2 separate regions of the Homo sapiens genome follow, and region 2 is linked to region 1. The links are contacts of gene promoters, found by promoter capture Hi-C in blood cells and fetal thymus (Javierre and others, 2016). All regions are on one chromosome and are shown on one strand. Each heading gives the region's core, a stretch centred on a gene start or on the middle of the fragment in contact. The rest is flanking DNA. Distances are from core to core; before and after follow the strand shown.

Region 1 (3,806 bases), core at 602-3,101:
CAGCCGGCGGTGGGATTGAAGGTTAGGCTCTGGATTTCAGTAAGGCAATGTGGCTGCTCATAGGCGGCAAAGTTTACGAGAAAAGGAGAAAACACCAGAGAGAGAAAGAGTTGGTGAGAATTGAGTGAAAGGGGAGGGGAGGAAGGTCAGGGAGGAGCGGGGAACACAAGTCGAGAGTCAGAGAGAAGAGGTCAGGGTTGAGTAGAGCAAGGAAGAACCAACCGCGGGGGAGCAGGGGCGTGGCGAGGGTGGCGGAGGGCACTCGTCGCGAAAAGACTGTCACCCACGCTCGCTCCTCCCAAGTCTCCAGGGGGCGGAGGCTGCCAAAATTCCGAGCCCGAGCGCGGAGGCGCCGGACCCCAGCAGGTGGTGCCCCTAACAACGTTCCCTCGTCCCAGTTCCCAATTTGCCTTTCCTCCGGATAGAGACTTCCTCTCCCTAAATTGGAACAGAAGTGTTGTCCCAAGCTAGGCGCAGCCCCGCTCTGACAGCCCAGATGTCCCCTTTCCCCCGGCGGCGGCGTCCCGGAGCCCAGGCACCTCTCGGAGTTCTGCACGTAGCAGGATACTCCCTCTCCAAAATGCCTGGCGTCTCCCTGGAGAAAGCCAGCAGCACTGAACTCTCTACTCACCCGATTGCTACAAGAGACGGTGTTGTTGAACTCGGTACTTTTGGTCTGGAAGAAAGAAAAATAGGACAAAGAGGGTAAAGACTTTTAAGTCCACAAGGAAAATCATCCCTCCACCCTTTGCTCCCAGGCTTTAAAGGTGCCCTGAAAACAGTTTCCACTCAGGTACCTTTTTCCTATGTCATTGACAAGGCAGTGAAATAGCCATTAGATAGTGCTGGTTAGTGCTTGAAACCACACCAAAAGGTTCAGGTCTCAGAGGGCGACCTCCCCCCTCCCTTCCCTCAAGCCATAACTGCACATAGCACTATGCTTGTGAGTAATAATGCCATCCTTTGGATGTCCGCATCTGTACTGTGGCCATTCATGAATGCAAACTCTGTCTAGAAATTAGGTTAATCAGGAAAATGATTACTACTGTATGTTAAAAAAAATTCCAAGTACACCATATTCTGTAATAAATAGCATCCTGAAACATCTAAAACACTGGAGAGACCTGGAGCACAGCATCAATCCTTAGAGTTTATCTCATGAGAATTATCTCTTTTACTCCTCTTTCTTAAGCTCTTACCTCCTGCTTTTTACAGCATAGTCAGAGTAACACTTTAGCAAAGGATAGACATCCTTTGACGCATAACGCGCTGTCTATCAATACCTGCTCCTCATCAGCATCTGCACACTTAGAATGTGCCAATTTCTAGATAATCATTTTAGATTAGATATTTGAATATCACTTGTAAGAATCCTTGACAAAATGTGGGGCCATGATTTTTTCTAAATTATTTTTCTTTCCTACAAAGTTAAATTGTAGAGTGTGTGTATGCCGACTCCTCTGATGAAAATACATTTGTTTTAAAAAAGCTTCTTCACTTACCCCACTCATATATGTAATCAGGTCTTTAGAAATAGTACTGAGATAGGCTGCTTTAATCTTCTCAAAGTCACAGTTAGTGAAGTCGTAAGTTAACACCAGCCCTACAAGTTGTAAGATGAAGATTTTCCTGAAAGAAACTGACAGAACATATAGTAAGGCAAAAGGGAACATACGTGGACACCCAATTCCACCCCAGTTTCACACTAAACTCTTCCCACCACGAGTGTAAGAGATCTGTAAGGCCTGCCTTAGGGGCCAGTGCTCAAGCACCAGGTTTTGCCTCTCATTGCCAGTCCACAGGAAGCCCTTATTCACCCATGCTGTTGCCTTAAGTTGGAGTCTCCCTGATGCTCCAGAGCTTTCTGGCTGCACTATATAACACCTAAACGCCTACGGGCTCTTTTCTCCTAGGCCAATGATTTTCTACCATGTCATTCTCTTCCTTTATAGAATTCTGAATTGATGATGTGAAAGGAAAAAAAAAAAGGAGTAGCTAAATCTATGGAATTTTAACATCAGTAAAGTCATCAGGAATTTCCCTCACCTTCCTCCTTTTTGCTTTGCCCTAAACACTTCATAAGTGTGAATGTCCTTTAAGAAACGGATACCAGTGTCTTTCTCCTACAGGGCATTTCCGTGACCAATCCTTTCTATTTGGGAGAAACACCTTCTGAAACCAGCAGCCACTGTAAGGATTTGGAGTCCTTGCATATGTCCCATGCATTCTGAACATCTTTGAGCATTTCCTGTGGCCACTTTCAACTAGTGCTTTCCCTTCTCCTTGGCTAGTAAGAAACTGTGCTTGCTTATGGGATGCTTTGGAGGGTGGGGTGCAGTCTCAGTCTTCGACAGCACTTCCATGTGAAAGCATTAAATGTGCAACCGTGACCAGAACCTTAGGGGCAGGAACGATAAGAGGTTGAAATAAGTGGGGAAAGATCTGATGTGGCTTGTTCTCAAAAACCCTACTTTTCAAATTTCCCATATCAATTTCAGGAAAAACGCCTACTCTTGGTGGCTAGGGGCACCTTAGGGGCTGAAGAGTCCTCTAGCACTTTCTAGCAGGTGTCAAGAACTTTTAAAACCACAAATTCCAGCGCCCAGCCACCTTCACAGTCCCACTCTTAAGGCCAGCGACACAAGAAGCGGAGCCAGACCGCGCTGCTGGGTGCCCAGCGGCGACCGCACGGAGACGATGCTGTCCTGAGCTCAGCTCTCCCGGAGGCGGCGCACGCTTTAGTGCGCTCTGCCTCGCAGAGGCTTAGCCCCGCGCAGCGTAGACTGGAAAACGTCTGTCACCTGGGGCCTCAGCCCGGGCACCAGTTTTAGAGACAGGAGAAGCATCGAGATGGCGGGCTCAGATTTTTACTAGCAAACTCTTGTTGATCCAGAAAAGAGCGCTTAAAAGCACAGCAAAGTGAGTCAGGGAGAGTGCCCTAGAGGATGTCTGTCTAGCAGTCTTCCCAGTTCCAGCAACACCAATGGAGGGTTGAAGGGAGGGAAAGGCCGACACCGATCAGGTTGCTGAGATGAACCCCCTGCTCCTCCCTGGCTTGGCTCATGCGGCCCTGGGCCCTCTCTACACCCAGGTCCCCTCTCTCTCTCTTTCCCTTCCGCTCCCCCGTCCATCGCACCCCTCACCCCCGCCCCCCGCCCTCGCGTGTCGGAGCCTGCATCGCTCTGGTCCTTGGGAAGTTCCTAGGAGTCATCGCTCGGAGAAAGGAGGTTGGACGCCGTGTGTGAGTCCCAGCAAATGTCACAGGCCATGCGGTGCCTGGGGAAAAGAGCAAGGAATGTCGAGGGATTCGGGAAAAGAGTAGGGGACAAACTGGAGCCAGAGTTGAACTCTTCTTCATAGAAGGCACTCGAGAGGGTCAGAAAACCTCTGATTCACCGCTGACTTCAAAAATGGCTCTTTTCTGGAATTCTTCATGTGTTGTACTCGAGTCACCACAGCATTCTTTGAAAAAAAAGTCCACTCTTCCCCCATCACCAACTTCTCAGGGTATTGTGGGATGATGCCAAAACCTGATTAATCTATTGTGACATCAGAGATTATTCTGGTCGGCAGCTGGACATTATTATATAGGCAGACAGGAGCTAAACTTAGATTTCTTCACTGGGCTGGGATAGCTCCAAGAGACAAAGGAAAGGGCATGGTGGCTGCTTCTGTCACCCTCACCTGACATGCCTTCCCCTCTAGTGGCTTGCTGTAGGGCCAGAGAGTGTGAGTGCCCACTAGAACCTTCGGCTTCATCTCTTGATTGCTGATGGGGGCAAGAACAACAGAAAGCAGCCTACACT
Region 2 (4,197 bases), core at 239-2,738, 1.1 Mb before region 1:
TTTTTTTTTTGGCACAGGGTCTCATTCTGTTGCCCAGACTGGAGTGCAGTGGTGTGATCTCGGCTTACTGCAACCTCCACCTCCCAGGTTCAAGTGATTCTCATGCCTCAACCTCCTAAGCAGTTGGAATTACAGGCACATGCCACCATGCCCAGCTAATTTTTTGTATTTTTAGTAGAGATGGGGTTTTGCCATGTTGGCCAGGCTGGTTTTGAACTCCTGACCTCAAGTGATCCACCCACCTTGGCCTCCCAAAGTGCTGGGATTACAGGCTTGAGCCACTATGCCCAGCCTAATCTTATTCTTAAAACAAAGAACATCTACATTTAACAGTACCATATTTGGTCTGAGACCAAGATTTCATCCCTTTTTCCTTTTCATGTTTTGTCTCATCCTGAGTTGATTAAAAGGTCTTTATAGACAGATCACTTTTTTCCCCCTGCACAAAGGAAAAACCATTTGGTCAACTCAGTGGCTGGAAAGTAGCTTAGTGTATTCTGTAGGTTCAGGAAGCCCTACCAGAATACCGTAGTGGTGCCCTTATGAATCGAGAAGAATGAAAGCATTAATGATATCATACACTAAAAGCATTATTGAGCCCCCCAAATGCTAATACAGATTAATCACATACAATTCCATAGGATCAGTGGCTTTTAATTATTTGTTCTTTCTTTTGGCCTATTACTAGATCTCTGTTCTCTTAAAGGGACTGATGAAAGCTTATTTTCTCACTATGAAGAAAAATCATTCTGTGTCAACAATTGCAGTGATAATAGATTTCACTGCATTCATTGCTACAATGGGAGAAATAGTTGATACTACAGAGAGTACAAACACTTGAATGCTGACTGAATTTTTCATTCTAGGAAGTTAAAGATAGTGGTATAATATCTGCTCACATACTTCTTGGAGAAAAGATTTGCAGAGTCAATAGTTAGGAATGGAGAAGGGCGTAAAGAGGGTGGCAGCATGAGCCAAGGCCACTGATAGTCCTAGCATTTGCTGGCCCAAGTTTTGTTGCAGAAATGCAACACCAGATGTAACATGAAAGATGGGTCATTGGTACAGTCTGCCATCAGGGCCATCCCACCAGTTGCTTTTTCCTTTTGGTGGTTGCTTCTCCTAGGTAATCACAGATCATGTTGGAACTTTTTAGAATCAGGATGAGTTCTTCTTTTACCATTACTTACAAATATCTGGAAAGATCAGAAACAGACGCCCTGAATCATTCTTCGTTGTACAGTTACCACTGGATGGGGAGGCATATGACCCTGCAGTTCTGAGGTCTTTCATTAAATGAAGCTCTGGTTATGACTGGGTTTTATGATTTTCCTTCAGCGGCAGTAGCAGCAATTTAGCTGCTGGTGTCTTTATACTAACCATCACAATGGCTCTCCCTGTCCAGTCTTTCCTTGTCTGTTCTCAGCTGGCAAATAAGAACTTCACAGTCTGAAAACTATTAAAGTTAGTTATTAGGTTGTGAGATGAAGCATGTTTGCAGAGATGAATGTTGTTTTCTCTATTTATAGGAGAAGCCCCGATATCCAAGCAAAAGAAGAGTTATGGAAGCACATTCAGTGAGTAATAGTTTTCTTTCTTATTGTTTTAAAACCCATGTAGTTTTAATGCAATTGCAAGGAAGACTCCTGATACTGAGAGGCAACTTCAGCGTGATGCCTGCCAAAGCCATTGCCACTGTGTGTGGCAGGCACATGGAGCACATGGTGGTGGTGCCTTAACCATATCAACACCTATCTACAGGCAACCCTGACACCTCCTCACCTTGGGTCATTTAGTCTCGCCTCTAAATGGACCTCAGACAGGCCAATAGTTTACAAATAAATACCAAGGAAAACAAATCCAGAAGAAAAAAGACACCTACCACAGGGGAGAGAAGCAGATCTTTTATAGGGAAATGGGGAATGACTGGAGTCTGAATGTAGAAGAATTGAAAGAAGGCAAAAGAGCTACAGAAAAGGTTTTACCCCTCCTATTTTTCCTTGAACACGTTTAGTTTTTATAAATTTTCATTAGTTTTACTAACACTGTTTTGGGACAAGATTAGAAAGGGAAAACTCACCTGCCGATTGTGAAAGATACTAGCATTTATACCAGCACCACAACTATCATTTTCTTGCATATTCCTTTACAGAAAAGAACTTGTGGATCCATCCGGATTGTCCGAAGAACAATTAAAAGAGATTCCATACACTAAAATAGAGTGAGTGCCTTTCAGAATCTTCTCACCAAAGCTTTATTAGTGCTTGTGAGTAATCCATTCTAATTCTTCAATTGTGTTCCAGACAGTGCTTTAATTTGTCTTTACATTTTAAACAAAACTAGGTGACAGTAGCGAAAGAGGAAGAAAAGTGTGCATTAAAGCTACTTATTCTACACTATAATCACTATCATCTCTTATTAGCCACCTCTTTGTACTTGGTAGGTACAAGGGGGCTTTTCCTGATTAATGTCAGTTTTAAAATAAATTCTTTTCTGAGATTCTCACTGATAAAGTTTTTTATCCATTATTTTACACCAAGAGAATTATGTTGACCATAAAACTCTCATATGAGCCCAGTCCCATCCCTGGCATAGAAGCAGCACATTGAGCAGGCTTCGTGAAAGCACAGCAGGAGTCCTTAGTCACCAGTGTAAGAGGAACCGTACCTGTTGACTGTGTTTTCTGCCTTACCAGTACTTGGTTAAGAGAAAGTGAGTGCCTGCTTTGTTTCCCTTCTGTAGCTATGCTGCTTTCCCACCACAGTTAAATAGCAGGTTGGTACACCCCAGCCACCCTCCGTCCCCATCTTTAGGTCAAAGATTTGAATTATTTATTTGTTTTTAATTATTAAGGTATAATTGACAAATAAAAATTGTGTATGTTTATACAATCTGATGTTTTGATATATGTATACATTGTGAAATGCTGAAGTCAAGCTAATGTATCTATCACCTCACATACTTTTTTTTTATGGAGAGAACACTTAAGATCTACTTTCTTAGCAATTTTCAAGTAAAGACTGAATTCTTAATGTTGGTAGCTAGGACAGCGGACCAACTTTTTCCATTAGGAATGCCATTTTGTCTGCATTATAGATTTTGTTTACTTCCACGCTACTAAGAAGAATTCCACGGTAAGGAATAATTTCATTTAAAATTTGGTTGTTAAAAAATATACATACATACATATATATATGTATACACACAAATACTTTAAAGAGCTTCATTTTCACATATTGTCAAGGGAGCATTTTTCTTGTGAAATTTAAGTCACTCAGGCTTTCAAACCCTAGGAGTCAAGTTCTTTTTAAAACTCTGAAAGTTGTTATTCTTTTGCGGTTTCAATATTAAGAACTCCTACTTTTCCTTTTCTGACTTTGGGTGTTTGTTTTCATGTTTCTTGGTTGCTTGTTCAGGACACAAGGTGACCCAATCCGCATCAGGCATTCTCATTCGCCACGAAGTTACCGCCAGTATCGCAGGTCCCAGTGTTCAGATGGGGAGCGATCAGTTCTCTCGGAAGTGAAGTAAGTGGGCAGGCCAGAGTACACCATCACCATCATGGCTCCAAAACAGTGCAGTCTAAAAGAACTTTACTTGCTGATGGAAATGTTTTATATCTACACTGTAGTTCTCTTCCAACTTAATTTATGATTCTAGATACTGTTCCAGTCACTAATTCTAAAACTCATTCTCTGCAGTTCAAAAACAGATCTTGTACCACCACTTCCGGTGACCCGTTCTTCGGATGCTCAGGGTTCTGGGGATGCTACAGTTCATCAGGTTAGTAATAGTAAGGTTTGAAGAAGGTGTTGTATTGATGACAATTTTGAGAAGCATTTTGTGCTTTGGAAAGTTCCTTTAGGGAGGTAGGGCAGGCAATGAAACCTTAATGTCATTCTGAGATTCTGTATTTTAAAAGAACGTGGAGAAATCATGGAAGGAAAAGTGCATGATCAAGAACCCTGGCACAATCTGGGAAGAGTTAGGAATAACAGGTAGAGGTAGTGGGGCACAGCTGAGGATAACAAAGATTGTAAGACCATTTGGAGCCAGAATAAAGAAACAATTGTTTCACTAATTAAAAAGCGATAGTAACAACAGGTATTTTGAGCCAGAGAAACAAAGAGAAAGTGATAGACTCACTTTGTTAACTGATAGCAGACAGAAGAATTACTTAAGTCCTGTTTTATTTCT

The links. The method cuts DNA at HindIII sites, captures the fragments that hold promoters and counts their contacts. A CHiCAGO score of 5 or more calls a contact.
Region 2: a fragment that was not itself captured here is called in contact with the fragment with the promoter of TSLP in region 1 in 5 of 17 cell types (M0 macrophages, activated CD4 T cells, fetal thymus and 2 more); the score reaches 6.7 in M0 macrophages.

Annotation. Positions count from the first base shown.
Region 1 is chr5:111,069,758-111,073,563 of GRCh38, reverse strand. TSLP (thymic stromal lymphopoietin) reads right to left here and starts at 1,851. Exons shown (of 4, transcript NM_033035.5): 1 at 1,503-1,851; 2 at 632-676; 3 at 1-53. The coding sequence starts at 1,673. The HindIII fragment of the contact is 3,260 bases long and covers 1,492-3,806 here.
Region 2 is chr5:112,168,325-112,172,521 of GRCh38, reverse strand. EPB41L4A (erythrocyte membrane protein band 4.1 like 4A) reads left to right here. Exons shown (of 23, transcript NM_022140.5): 19 at 1,530-1,577; 20 at 2,153-2,221; 21 at 3,417-3,527; 22 at 3,702-3,783. Among named protein-coding and RNA genes, the nearest start is that of SNORA13, 8.9 kb to the right of the region's middle. The HindIII fragment of the contact is 1,533 bases long and covers 722-2,254 here.